Regions from separate parts of the Homo sapiens genome. Here region 1 is linked to region 2. The links are contacts of gene promoters, found by promoter capture Hi-C in blood cells and fetal thymus (Javierre and others, 2016). All regions are on one chromosome and are shown on one strand. Each heading gives the region's core, a stretch centred on a gene start or on the middle of the fragment in contact. The rest is flanking DNA. Distances are from core to core; before and after follow the strand shown. Region 1 has its middle 8.4 kb from the start of BEST1. Region 2 holds the start of FADS3 (fatty acid desaturase 3).

Region 1 (7,256 bases), core at 1,685-4,184, 50 kb after region 2:
AGCTACTCAGGAAGCTAAGGTGGGAGGATGGATCCCTTCGGCCCAGGAGTTTGAGGCTGCAGCCACTGCACTCCAGCTTGAGTGACAAGGGACTCTGTATTTAAATACTACATATATTCCATGAAAACTAACAAAAAGAGGGCTGGAGTGGATATCCTAATATTATAAAAAATAGACCTCAAGGCAAAAATTGTTACAAGGGACAAAGAGAAACATTTTGTAATGATAAAAGGTTCAATTCATCAAGAAGATATAACAATTATATATTTCACCTAACAGGAGAGTCCTCAAAGTATTTGAAGCAAAAATGGACAGAATTCAAAGTAGAAACAGGCCAGCAAGAATAGCTGGAAATATCGGCTGAGCACAGTGGCTCATGCTTCTAATCCCAGCACTTTGGGAGGCCGAGGTGGGCAGATCACCTGAGGTCAGGAATTCAAAACCAGTCTGCCCAACATGGTAAAACCCTGTCTCTACTAAAAATACAAAATTTAGCTGGGCATGGCAGTGTGTGCCTGTAATCCCAGCTATTTGGGAGGCTGAGGCAGGAGGATGGCTTGAACCTGGGAGGTGGAGGTTGCGGTGAGCCAAGATTGTGCTACTGCTCTCCAGCCTGGTAACAGAGCAAGACTCTGTCTCAAAAAATAAAAAAAAGTAATAAATAAATAAATAAATAAATAAAAAGAATAGTTGGAAACGTCAATACTTCACTTTCAATAATGGCTAGAACTACACACTAGATAAGGACATAGAAGACTTGAACAGTGCTAACTCTACCCAACCATAGCAGAATATACATTCTTCTCAAAGTACACATAAAACATTCCCCAGGATAGACCATATGTTAGACCACAAAATAAGTCTTAATAAATTTTAAAGAATTGAAATCATATGAATTATCTTTCCAACCACAAAGGAATGAAATTAGAAATAACAGAATTAAAAGTGAAAAATTCACAAATATGTGGGAATTAAGCAACACACTCTTAACTGCCCCACGGATCAAAGAAAAAATCACAAGAGAAATTAGATGAGATGAATGAAAATGAAAATACAGCATACCAAAACTTATCGAATACAGCAAAAGCAGTACTCAAAGGGAAATTTATAGCTGTAAAAACCTACATCAAAGAGAAGAAAGATCTCCAATTAATAACCTAAACTTCCAATTTAAGGAACTAGAAAAAGTAGAATAAACTAAACCCAAAGCAAGCAAAAGAAAGAATAAAAATTAAGAGTGGAGATAAATGAAATAGAAAAGAGAAAAACAACAGAAAGAATCAATGAAAACAAAAGTTGATTCTTCAAAAAGATCAAGAAAATTGATGAAACTTTAGACTGACCAAAAAAAAAAAAAGAAGACTCAAATTACTAAAGTTAGGAATAAGGCTGGAGTGGCTCACGCCTGTAATCTGAGCACTTTTGGAGGCCAGTGCGGGGGAATTGTTTGAGCTCAGGAGTTCAAGACCGGCTTGGGCAACATAAGGAAACCTTGTCTCTGCTAAAAATAAAATATTAAAAAATTAGCCAGGTGTGGTGGCACATGTCTGTAGTCCCAGTTATTTGAGAGGCTGAGGCAGGAGGATTACTTGAGCCCAGGAGATTGAGGCTGCAGTGAACTATGATCTTGCCACTGCACTCCAGCCTGGGCAACAGGGTGAGACTCTGTCTCAAAAAAAAAAAAAGGAACGAAAGTAGAAAAATTACTACTAGCTGGACATGGTGTCTCGTGCCTGTAGTCCTAGCTACTGGGGAGGTTGAGGCAGGAGGATTGCCTTGAGCCCAGGAGTTCAAAGCTGCAGTGAGCTATGATCGTACCACTTCTCTCCATCCTGGGTGATAGAGCAAGATGCTGTCTCTAAAGTAAATACATAGGCTGGGTGCAGTAGCTCACGCCTGTAATCCCAGCACTTTGGGAGGCCGAGGCTGGCAGATCACCTGAGGTCGGGAGTTCGAGACCAGCCTGACCAACATGGAGAAACCCTGTCTCCACTAAAAATACAAAATTAGCCAGGCATAGTGGCGCATGCCTGTAAACCCAGCTACCCGGGAGGCTGAGGCAGGAGAATCACTTGAACCTGGGAGGTGGAGGTTGCGGTGAGCCGAGATCATGCCATTGCATTCCAGCCTGGGCAACCAAGGGTGAAACTCCGTCTCAAAAAAAAAGAAAAAAAAAAGTAAATACATAAATGAATGAATAAAAATTAAAAATAAAAATGTGGCCAGGCATAGTGGTTATGCCTGTAATCCTGGCATTTTGGGAGGCCAAGGCGAGAGGATTCCTTGAGCCCAAGAGTTCGAGACCAGCCTGGGCAAGATGGTGAGACCCTATCTCTACAAAAAGTTTAAAAGTTAGGCTGGGCGCGGTGGCTCACGCCTGTAATCCCAGCACTTCGGGAAGACGAGGTGGGCGGATCACTTGTCAGGGGTTTGAGACCAGCCTGGGCAACATGGTGAATCCTTGTCTCTACTAAAAATACAAAAATTAGCGGGGCATGGTGGCACTTGCCTATAGTCCCAGCTACTCAGGAGGCTGAGGTGGGAAAATGACTTGAACCCGGGAGGTGGAGGTTGCAGTGAGCCGAGAATGCACCACTGCACTCCAGCCTGGGCAACAGAGCAAGACTCCATCTCAAAAAAAAAAATGTAAAAATTAGCCAGGCACTGTGGCACGTGCTTGTAATCCCAGCTGCTTGGGAGGCTGAGGCAGGAGGCTCCCTTGAGCCTAGGAATTCAAGGTAGCAGTGAGCTATGATCACACAGCTGCACTCCAGCCTGGGTGATAAAGTGAGATTCTGTTTCTATAAATAAATAATAAAATAAATAAAACATTTTAAAAAGAAAAACTACTACCAACCTTACAGATACAGAAAGAATTATAGAACACTATGAAAAATTGTATGACAACAAACTAGATAACCTAGATTAAATGAACAAATGCCTAGAAACCAAAACTTCCTCAAGAAGAAACAGAAAACTTGAATAGACCTCAAACACAAGATTGAATCAGTAATCAAAAAACTTCCAATAGAGAAACGATTAGGAGCAAATAAAGAATAAATGCCAATCCACAAACTGTTCCAAAAAATAGAGAAGAATATACTTCATAACCCATTCTCTTGTGCCAGTATTATCCTAAAACTAAAGCCAGACAATATCTCACAAGGAAAGAAATATAAAGACCAGGCTGGGCGTGGTGGCTCACGCCTGTAATCCCAGCAATTTGGGAGGCTGAGGCAGGTGTATCACGAGGTCAGGAGATCGAGACCATCCTGGCTAATGTGGTGAAACCCCATCTCTACTAAAAATACAAAAAATTAGCCAGGTGTGGTGGCAGGCACCTGTAGTCCCAGCTACTCGGGAAGCTGAGGCAGGAGAATGGCGTGAACCCAGGAGGCGGAGCTTGCAGTGAGCCCAGATCGCACCACTGCACTCCAGCCTGGGCAGCAGAGCAAGACTCTGTCTCAAAAAAAAGAAGGAATATACGGACCAATATCCCTTATGAATATAGATGCAAATATCCTCAACCAAATACTAGCAAATCCAATCCAGCAACATGTTAAAAAGATTATACATCGTGTCCATGTGGGATTTATCATGGGAATGCAAGCAAGGTAGTTGAACATATGAAAATCAGTGTAAAGGCCAGGCATGGTGGCTCATGCCTATAATCTTAGCACGTTGTGAGGCCTAGGCGGGCAGATCACTTGAGGTCAGAAATTTGAGACCAGCCTGGCCAGCATGGTGAAACCCCACCTCTACTAAAAATACAAAAATTAGCCAGACATGGTGGCGTGCTCCTGTAATCCCAACTACTTGGGAGGCTGAGGCAGGAGAATCGCTTGAAACCAGAAGATGGAGGTTGCAGTGAGCCATGATCGCACCACTGCACTCCAGCCTAGGCAACAAGAGCAAAACTCCGTCTCAAAACAAACAAACAAGATGTGCTTTGTTAAACAGATGCTTGAAGGCAGCATGATCGTTAAGAGTCATCACCACTCCCTAATCTCAAGTAATCAGGGACACAAACACTGTGGAAGGCCGCAGGGTCCTCTGCCTAGGAAAACCAGAGACCTTTGTTCACTTGTTTATCTGCTGACCTTCCCTCCACTATTGTCCCATGACCCTGCCAAATCCCCCTCTGTGAGAAACACCCAAGAATTATCAATAAAAAAATAAATTAAAAAACAAACAAACAAACAAACAAAAAACACCTGAGCTCAAACAATTCTCCCTCCTTGGTCTCCCCAAATGCTGGGATGACATGCATGAACCACTGCACCTGGCAAATTATGACATGATCTTATATGTAGTAAACCCTAAAGAATCCACACAAAAACTATTACAGCTAGTAAATAAATTCAGCAAAGTTACAGGATACAAGATTAATATACAAAAATCAGCTGTATTTCCATACATTAGCAATAAACAATCTGAAAATAAAATTAAGAAAATAATGCCATTTACAAAATGGAACTTTATTCTTATTAAAAAGAATAAGAGACTTCGGAATATTTTTAACCAAGAAGATGCAAGACTTGTACACTGAAAACCCTACGACAGTGGTGAATGAAACTAAAGAATACCTAAATAAATGAAAAGACATCCTATGTTCATGGATTGGAAGACTTGATGTTGTAAAGATGACTAAGTGATCTACAGACTCAGTGTAATCCCCATCAAAATTCCAACTGCGTTTTTTGCAGAAATGGGCAAGGCGATCCTAAAATTCACATGGAATTGCAATGGACCCCAAATAGCTAAAACCATCTTGAAAAAGAACAAAGTTGGAGAACTTACACTCCTGGTTTCGAAATTTCTACGTAGCTACATAATTAAAACAATGAAATATTGAAGTGACATATAGCTCAATAGAATTGATAGTCCAGAAATAAACCCATATATGTATTATCAATTGATTTTCAACATGTATGCCAAGACAAGTCAATAGGAAAGAATATGCTTTTCAACAAATATACATGGACACCTGGATAGCTACATGCAAAAGAAGAAAGTTGGACCTTTACCTCAAATGATACATAAAAATTAACTCAAAATAGGTCAAATTCCTAAATGTAAGAACTAAAGCGATAGAAGTTTTAGAAGAAAACGTACGGGTAAATCTTCATGACCTTGGATTTGACAGTGTCAAAATTTATCTAAATTAAAATTTTAATGTTTAAAATTCAAAATGAATTAAAAACTTTCATGCATCAAGGAACCTCCTCAAGAAAGTAAAAAAGATGATCTACAGAATGGGAGAAAATATTTGTAAATCACGTGCTTGATAATGGTCTAGTATCCAGAATATATAAATAATTCTAACAACAACAAGAAGGCAAACAATCCAACTGAAAAAATGGGCAAAAGACTTGGATAGACATTTCTCCAATGAGGATAAACAAACAGCCAATAAGCACATGAGAAGATACTTAACATCGTTTGCCATCTGGGAAATGAGAATCAAAACCACAATGAGATACTACTGCACACCTACTAGGATGGCTTTAGCATCAGTAAATATGTAAACACTACATACATAAGTGGAAAAGGTGAATTTTACAGGACACGGATTGCCCCTCAATATTAAAATTATAAAAAAAAGACTGGAAGGAAATACATCAAAATGATAACCTTGTTTGGGAGTTTGTTTTGTTTTGTTTTAAACTGCTCTGTAGTTTCCTAATTGTTTATAACAAGCATTTAGTCCTTTTGAATTGTAAGCAATAGTCTTAAATCTCTCTTATAGTTGTATAAAGCAGGCATACATGAATCTTCCTCCCCTCCCCTCCCTTCCTCCCTCCTTCAAAATAAATTAAAAACTTTTGTGCATCAAGGAACCTCCTCAACAAAGTAAAAAAGACGACCTACAGAATGGAGTCCTCCCTACCTCCTTCCCTTCCTTCCCTTCCTTCCTTTCCTTCCCTTCCTTCCCTCCTTCCTTCCTTCCTTCCTTCCTTCCTTCCTTCCTTCCTTCCTTCCTTCCCTCCTTTGTTGAGACAGGGTCTTGCTCTGTCACCTAGTCTGGACTGCAGTTCTGAGCTGGTGTGATCATAGCTCACTGCAGCCTCAAACTCCTGGGCTCAAGCAATCATCCGACCTCAGCCTCCCAAAATGTAGGGATTGTATGTGTGAGCCACTGCACCAGGGCAGATTCTGCATTGGTAACAAGCTTCCAAATGATGTAACTGGGCCCCAGACCTCAGTTTGAGAAGCCAGGTTCTAGAAGTCAGCAGCAGGAAGGAATGGACCAATTAAGCAAATCAGCAAAGCAGAGGGACCACAGAAAAAAGGACGATGCTCCCGGGCCCCTCCCCCGGGACATATTTACACTAAAAATTATTCACTTTTCTATCTGAAGTTCTTATTTGCCTGACTGTCCTGTAGTTGTTTTGCCAGGATGTCATCTAATGTTTGTTTTTGTTTTGGACACGGAGTTTCGCTCTTGTCAACCAGGCTGGAGTACAATGGTGCAATCTTGGCTCACTGCAACCTCTGTCTCCCGGGTTCAAGTGATTCTCCTGCCTCAGCCTCCCCGAGTAGCTGGGATTACAGGCATGCGCCACCATGCCTGGCTACTTATCTTTGTATTTTTAGTAGAGACGGGATTTTGCCATGTTGGCCAGGCTGGTCTTGAATTCCTGACCTCCCGTGATTCACCCGCCTCAGCCTCCCAAAGTGCTGGGATTACAGGTAGGAGCCACCACACCTGGCCTGGCCTGTAGTTTTATTGGCTAAGTCTGGTAGCCCTAGCATGGGTGGAGAAGGCTGTAGCTGTGGAAGCCCAGCCAGTCTGCATCTGAGGCAGGGAAAGGCAGCTAAGGCAGCCTGCCGTCAGCCCATTGACCTGACAGATAGGGGCCAATGTGGCTTACTCCTCATCTAGCCTACCCTTGTGCCGTCCTCTCCAACATCCATCCACCTGACAGATGGATGACCCTTCCTCTTCCCCAGGGGTTGTTTTGATGAGTAGATGACATTTCTAAAGAGCGCTTAGTGCACTGCCTGACACCTGGTAAGTGGTCAAGATGGGGAGAACTGATTGTTTCTACTATTCTTTCCCTCTCACAGTGGCCACCGCAGCGCTAAACACGGTCGGTCGGCATTCAGTGCTCGCCGTGGAAGCGAACCGCAGGAGCATCCTGGGGCAGCGGGGAGTTGCTGCACTCACCTAGACAGGCGGCCTACTGTGACTTCAGGCAAGTCATTTTCCTTCTCTGTGCCTCAGTTTCTTTGTCTGCAAAATGAGCAGCTGG
Region 2 (7,587 bases), core at 1,714-4,213:
AGGACCGTAACCAAATAAGGTCACCCAGGAAAGGGGTAGCCGTGCAGGGCTGTCCCACCATACGCTGCAGTTTGCAGGGCACGCTCACACTTAGGGGCCAGCAGCATTTACCGAATACAAACTACTACCTGGCAGCCCTGGGCCATGGGCTTGAGGAGACACAGTCCTGCCCTCAGCCAGCTCACTGTCTGCCCCAGCTCTCCCACTTTACAGATGAGTAAACTGGGGCACAGAGGAGTGACATGCCTGCTTCAAGGTCGCTCAGTGCCTCCAATAGCAGAGCTGGCACCCGGCCCCAAGGAGCAGAGAGATGTTTTTTGTTTGTTTGTTTGAGACGGAGTTTTGCTCTTGTTGCCCAGGCTGGAGTGCAATGGCGCGATCTCGGCTCACCGGAACCTCCGTCTCCTGGGTTCAAGCGATTCTCCTGCCTCAGCCTCCCAAAGTGCTGGGATTACAGGCATGCGCCACCACGCCTGGCTAATTTTGTATTTTTTTAGAAGAGACAGGGTTTCTCCATGTTGGTCAGGCTGGTCTCAAACTCCCGACCTCAGGTGATCTGCCCACCTCAGCCTCCCAAAGTGCTGGGATTACAGGTGTGAGCCACAGCGCTCGGCCTGAGATGTTTTTAAAACAGATATTATTGGCTGCGAATCAATGAGAAAACTGTGTGATGGAAGTCTCAGGATCCCAAGCTAAATGTTAAGTCAGTAATTCCACTTGGGAGGAACCCCAGCATGGGCCTGGCACCAGGCAGGAAACAGTGATGAAATAAAAGCTTTCTGTATCCCAGCCGGGCGTGGTGGCTCACGCCTGTAATCCCAGCGCTTTGGGAGGCCGAGGTGGGTGGATCACGAGGTCAGGAGTTCGAGACCAGCTTGGCCAACATGGTGAAACCCCGTCTCTACTAAAAATACAATATGCTGGGCGTGGTGGCGCGTGCCCGTAATCCCAGCTACTCGGGAGGCTGAGGCAGGAGAATCGCTTGAACCTGGGAGGCGGAGGTTGCAGTGAGCCAAGATGGCGCCATTGCACTCCAGTCTGGGTGGCAGAGCAAGACTCTGTCTCCGGCGGTTGGTGGGGAGTAAAGTTTTCTGTATCCATACTGTCCTCTAGGTTACAAAAGACTAGAGCAGGCCGGGAGTGGTGGCTCATGCCTGTAATCCCAGAACTTTCGGAGGCTGAGGCAGGAGGAATGCTTGAACCCAGGACTTTGAGACCAGCCCGAGCAACATAGTGAGACCCTGTCTCTATTTTTAAACAAATAATAATAAATAAAATAGATACTTTTTTAGAAAAAGACCAGAGCAGGCATCCACAAGACTCCTTGAAGGGAGGCCAGGGCTCAGCAAGGCCTTTGGGGAGAAGCCGTGCCCCTCACCTCGCCACGCCCTGGCAGAAAGGCAGGCACACACACCACACTCACCCAGACATGCAAACACCTGCACGCTCAAATACTGCCCCCAGGCTGCTTCATCCCACGGCTGTGCTGTCCCCTCGGGCCAGCGTCTGGCGCCTGAACAGCCACGGACAAGGCGTTCTCTTTTTTTTTTTTTTCTTTTTTTAGAATTTCAGGAGGATTCTTATTCTCACTCCTCAGCTTCATGGGGTGGAAGGGGAAAAGAGGGGCTTTCTTCCTCAAAGAGTCCAGTGAAGATTGTCCAACATGCTGGAGATGGCAATCGGCAGAGAGCAGGTGGCCCTGTCAAGAGGGACGCCGACAGTCCTGGGACTGGACAGAACCTCCGCTGCTGCCCAAAAAGCCAGCATTCAGGATTCATGTCCTCGGGTCTTGAAGACCTTCCTGATACCCAGTGTGGCCAACCTAGAAATTTGGAGGGTCAAGGACAGGGCATCGTGGCCCCAACCCCTATTATGCAGGTGGGTAACTAAGGAAAAGGGGCTGGTCGGGCTGCTCCACCACTGGACTCCAGCCAGACAGTACCCTGGGGCCAGGCTACATCCCTGCCTGTCTAGACAGGGGCTGGGATTGGGAAGTTGGGGTCCCCAGGGGCCAGCCTGTTCCTGGGGTGACTGTGCTTCCAGGAGAGGCCCACCCAGCCTGGCTGGCAAAGCCCTCCCACGTGCAGCTGCTAGCCCGGAGAGGTGAGTCACTGTCCCTGAGCCCTTTACAGAAGCTCTTGGGAAAGCCACAGACCTCAGGCCGGCCCAGCCCCCAGCCTCTAATGGCATGTCCTTACCGGCCCCTGGGGACCCTGCCCTGCCCTACCCCTAGCACTCAGCAAGCACCCAGCATGGGGACCCAGAACTGAAACAGGGACCTGGGAGCAACAGGGCAGCCCCTCACCCAGGGCAGGCTCTGCAGCATGACACACCCACCTCTGAGGCCCCCTCCTCCCCCGCAGACCTGCTCCGTGGACAGCTGCGGGTCCTCCACGCAGGGAACTGCCCTCCCTACCCCACATCTGGCCCTGGCTAGTCCACCCCAACTCTGGGTCCCGGCGTGGAGGTCAAAGGTCAGCGAGGGGAGGGAGGATGCTAAGGCCCCACAGGTGGAGCGGGACATCACGCCCACGACCGAGCTCCAGGCTCCACCCGCCGGTGGGTGGCTTCCTTATGGCTTCCTTACCGTGGCGTCCTCAGCGCCGTGGTGGCCGATGAGGCGGCTGCCCCCTGGGTGCCGCTGTGCCCAGCGGCTGATGTCGTAGACGCGGCGCTCGATGACCAGCCACTTGTCGCCGGGCTGGTCGTGCGCGCGGATCTGCTCCCAGCAGAAGGTGGGCAGCGGCGCCCCCGGCTGCGCGGGTCCCTCCCGCGGTCCCGGCTCCCCGACGCCGCCCATGCTGCACGCACGAGTCCTGGGGATCCCAGGCGGTGGCCGAGGTCCGAGCAAGACCCCGAGGGAAGCGAAGAGCGCTCCCGGGCGCCGCCTCCGCCGCCGCCCGCTGCTCCGGCCCCGCCCTGCCGCCGCGGCCGCCGTACGAGCGAGCGTGCGCCTCCCGGCTCGCGGCGCAGGGAACTCCCCGCCTTATAACCGCGCGGACGGCGCCCGCCTCGCCTCGCCTGCCCCCCCGCCCCCGGCCAGGCCCCGGCCCCCAAGGCTGGCTGACCCCCCGCGTCCGCTCCAATCCAGGCGCGGGGCCTCGGTCTCCATTGGCCGCCAGGGAGGGCGGCGTCGAGGCGGCCCGCCCCTCCCGGGAGGACAGCGGCCGCCACCCAGCCCTGCCCCGGGGCACCGTCCCGCCCCCTTTTCCCGGGCTGCCGGCTTCCAGGTTCTTGACTCCACCCGGAGCGCGGGGCCTGGGGACACAACACGCACCTGTTGGGCGTCCCGCAGCGCCTCGCCACGCCCTCGGGAACCGGAGGCGGAGTCCCGGTCTGTGAGCAGCGGGGCCTGGGGGGCTTCCAGCCGCGCGTCCTGCAACGTCAAATCCAGTGCGCCCAGAGGGGGGACGCTGTCTCGGGGTGCCTGTGAACAGCCTTCAAACCATGGGCCCCAATCTCTGCGGGGCCCCCACCGCCGCTGCAGCTCTCTCGGAGCCCTCTGCTGGGGGCGGGTGGCCTCCCCTCCGCCCTCGGCGCTGCAGGGCTGGGGATGCCCAGGGGTGGCCAAGGGGGAGGTAGGGGAGCAGGAGGGCACTGGCGCGTGGAGGCGGGCGCTGCCATCCATGGGCTGAGGACACCTGTGCTTGTTACTGCTTCCCCGCCCCTCTTTTTTGTTTTGAGACAGGAGTCTCACTCTGTCGCCCAGGCTGCAGTGTAGTGGCATGATGTCGGCTCACTGCAGCCTCAACATCCTAAGCTCAGGAGATACCCCCACCTCAGTCTCGGGAGTCCCCAGCTGGGACTACAGGCGCGCCCCATCATACCCGGCTAATTTTTGGTGTTATTTTATTTTTGTAGAAATGGGTCTTGCCATGTTGCCCAGGCTGGTCTTGAACTCCTGGACTCAAGTGACCCTCCCGCCTCCCAAAATGCTGGGATTACAGGCATGAGCCACTGCACCCGGGCCCCATCCGCTTTTTTTAATTTAAATACATTCAAGTCCTTTTGAAAGTGTAGGTAGCTCCCCTAATTGCTTCGGATTTCTTTGTGATAAATATACCTGTTCCTAAAAGTTAAGCGTTCACAGCAGCAAGGAATTCAAATCAGGCTAAAGTTACTTCCAGAGCGCTGGTCGTCAATCTTCCATCAGAACCACCTGAAAGGCTTCCATCAGAACCACCCAGGAGGGTTATTCGGTGGGTCTGGTGTGGAGGCAGAGACTTACATGGCCAGTTCACAGGTGATGCTGACCGGCTGGTTGGGGAAATGCACTTAGAAAACCCTAAGTATATTTCTCTGATATGCTAATATTTTGTCTTGGTCTAAAGAGGACCAGTATCCCCAGAAGGGCAGAGGGGGCGAGTTCTCCCTGGTACCAGGAGCTCCTGCCTTTGCTTGTCAGGACATCCAGCAAGGCCCATGATGTCATCAGGCACCGGGGCTGCCTGGGCCCTCTCCACTGAGGCACCCACTGACCATATCCTGGAACCCCAACCTGGCACATGTGTGTGGGGGTGCAAGAGCATGGCTGGTGGCCCTGGCCCAAGGGGGCTGCAGGCACCCCTACCCCGTACCATGTTCACACAGCACAGGAATGGAGAAGGCAGATTCTTGAAGGAATGCATCCCCTGCACCAAAATCCACTGAAGGCATGGACCTGGCCCTGGCCCCACCTTCAGCAGCCCTGAGTGGTCAGATGTGGCCATCCTAGGGGCTTCTTCCTTGGAGCCAGCCCTGGCCTGGTCTCAGCCCCTGTGTGTGAGGTGGTTGGGGGTTGTGATAGGTTAGAACCTCCACTTTCCCCAGCTGCCCCCAGAAGAGATGGGGAAGATGAAGGGGGGGCCACAGAATCATGCAAGAGCCGTGAGTGAGGGCAGGGATCACAGCCCTATTGGCCAAGTCCTCCTCGAAGGGATCACTGTGGAGGCCAGGCGGAGCTCCTCAGAATGCTCCTCAGGAAAGAGGGGCTGCACACAAATGGGCAACACACACACGAAAAGGTGCTCAGCATTGCTAATCATCAGAGAGCTGCAAATGAAACCACAATGAAATACTGTCTCACACTTGTTAGGAGGGCTCCTATAAAAAAGAAAAAGGCCTGGAATCCCACCACTTTGGGAGGCCGAGGCAGGAGGATTGCTTGAGCCCTGGAGTTCAAGACCAGCCTCGGCAACATAGCAGGAACCCCGTCTTTAATAAATAAATACATAAATGAAAAAATCATGCCAGGCATGGTGGTTCACGCCTGTAATCCCAGCACTTTGGGAGGATCTCTTGAGCCTAGGGGTTCGAGACCAGCCTGGGCAACATGACAAAACCCTATTTCTACAAAAAAAAAAAAAAAAAAACTAGCAGGGCATGGTGGTGCGTGCGCCTGTAGTCCCAGCTACTTAGGAGGCTGAGGTAGGAGGATCGCTTGAGCCTGGGAAGCAGAGGTTGTAGTGCCCCAAGATCATGCCATTGTACTCCAGCCTGGGCTACAGAGGGAGACCTGGTCTCAAAAAATCAAATCACACGTGTTGGCAATGATGCAGAACCCTTGTGCATTGTGGGTAAGAATGTGAAGTGCTATAGCCAACTATAGAAAAGAGTATGAAAATGGCTTTAAAATGCCTATGATTCAGCAATTCCATTTCTGGGCATATACCCAAAAGAACCGAAAGCAGAGTCTTGAGGAGATATTTGTACATCTATTTTCTTAGCAGCATTATTCACAATGGCCAAGAGGTCATTGTGAGGCAGCACAACTGTCCATCCACAGACACTGGATAAACAAAACGTGGTCAGGCCAGGCGCGGTGGCTCACACCTGTAATCCCAGCACTTTGGGAGGCTGAGGCGGGCGGATCACCTGAGATCAGGAGTTTGAGACCATCATGGCCAACATGGAGAAACCCTGTCTCTACTAAAAATACAAAAATTAGCCAGGCATGGTGGCGCATGCCTGTAATCCCAGCTACTCAGGAGGCTGAGGCAGGAGAAAGGCTTGAACCCAGGAGGTGGAGGTTGCGGTGAGCCGAGATCGCACCATTGCACTCCAGCCTGGAGTAATAATTAATTATAATATAATAAAATTAAAAATAAAAAATAAAACGTGGTCTATGCATACAATGGAATATTATTCAGTCTTAAAAAGGAAGGAAATCCTGTCACATGCTACAACAGATGGACACTGAGGACATGAAGTGAAAGAAGCCAGTAATGAGAGGACAAATACTGCATCATCCACTTAAATGAGGGCCCTCGTGCAGTGAAATTCATAGAAAGTAGAATGGGGGTTGCCTGGGGCTGGGAGGAGGTGGAAATAGAGGGTTGATTAATGGGTACAGAGTCTCAGTTTTGTGAAATGAAAATGTTCTGGAGATGTTTCGGAACACTGTAAATGGACTTAGCACTACTGAACTATACACTTAAAAATGGTTAAGGGAGGGCCAGGCACAGTGGCTCACACCTGTAATCCCAGCACTGTGGGAGGCTGAGGCGGGCGGATCACTTGAGGTCAGGAGTTCAAGACCAGCCTGGCCAACATGGTAAAACCCCGTCTCTACTGAAAAAAAAAAAAAAATTCACACACAAAAAATTAGCTGGGCATAGGGGCTCATGCCTGTAGACCCAGCTACTTGAGAGGCTGGGGCAGGAGAATTGCTTCAACCCGGGAGGCGGAGATTGCAGTAAGCCTAGATTGCGCCACCGCACTCCAGCCTGGGTGACAGAGTGAGACTCCGTCTCAAAACAAAACAAAACAAAAACAACAATTAAAAAAAAAGAGTTAAGGTAGTACAAGTTATGGGTTTTTTACCGTAATAAAATGAAAAAGGCAAGGAGGCTGCGAAAGCCATTTAGTCCTATATTTCCAACTCACAGATGAGGAAACTGAAGCCCAGAGAGGAGCGACTTTGCCCAGGTGCACAGCCCCGGCAGGAGTTCCATCAGGACAGTCTTGGCAGACTGGAAAGCATCCTGCAGGAGTGAAGCACGCCAGTGCGCAGCTGGTCTCGGCTCAGCGCCTCCACCCTCAGAGGCCAGAGTCGTTGCTAGGTTTGAAGAGGGGGCCAAAGAGGGTTAAAATGTTCACATGTGCCAGGGGTACTCAGAGAGGCCCAAGTGGGTTATCTAGAAAATCCATTTAAGAGGAACAACTCCCTCGTGGCTGATGTCGGCTAACCCTCCCCAGCCACCTTTAAGCACATTGCAGGTGTCTAGGAAAGGGAATCCAGGATGCTGGTTCATACTGTGGGCTCCAGGGCTGGCCTCATGATTCCTATCCCGGGGCCATCATTTCCTCTGTGGCACTTCTGTGTGCCTCATTCTACTCATCTGCAAAATGGGAGAATAGTACTCTATAAGGTTGCTGTGAGGATGAAATGAATTAGATCATTTAAAGGGTTTAGAATCATGCCTGGCACAGTCAGTGCTCAGCTATTATCTCTCGTTGGGAGATACTGAGAGTGTATGTCCATCCTCCAGGCATTTCAGTTCTCTGTTTATGACCCCACTTGGGGTCTGACAGCAGGCTATGCCATTGCAGGGGCAGGCAGCGCGGGTCTGGGGTATGGGACCCTCTGCCTGGCCCCTGGAGTGTGGT

Evidence for each region. The method cuts DNA at HindIII sites, captures the fragments that hold promoters and counts their contacts. A CHiCAGO score of 5 or more calls a contact.
Region 1: a contact is called between a fragment that was not itself captured here and the fragment with the promoter of FADS3 in region 2, in 4 of 17 cell types (erythroblasts, M0 macrophages, neutrophils and 1 more). The highest score is 8.9, in erythroblasts.

Annotation. Positions count from the first base shown.
Region 1 is chr11:61,938,286-61,945,541 of GRCh38, forward strand. It overlaps a transcript of RAB3IL1 not described here. Among named protein-coding and RNA genes, the nearest start is that of BEST1, 8.4 kb to the right of the region's middle. RefSeq lists a silencer at 235-383 and enhancers at 3,568-4,222, 5,392-5,893. The HindIII fragment of the contact is 6,471 bases long and covers 1-6,170 here.
Region 2 is chr11:61,888,582-61,896,168 of GRCh38, forward strand. FADS3 (fatty acid desaturase 3) reads right to left here and starts at 2,964. Exons shown (of 12, transcript NM_021727.5): 1 at 2,588-2,964. The coding sequence starts at 2,800. RefSeq lists enhancers at 1,295-1,984, 1,985-2,673, 2,263-2,432 and silencers at 2,633-2,762, 2,863-3,672. The HindIII fragment of the contact is 11,072 bases long and covers 774-7,587 here.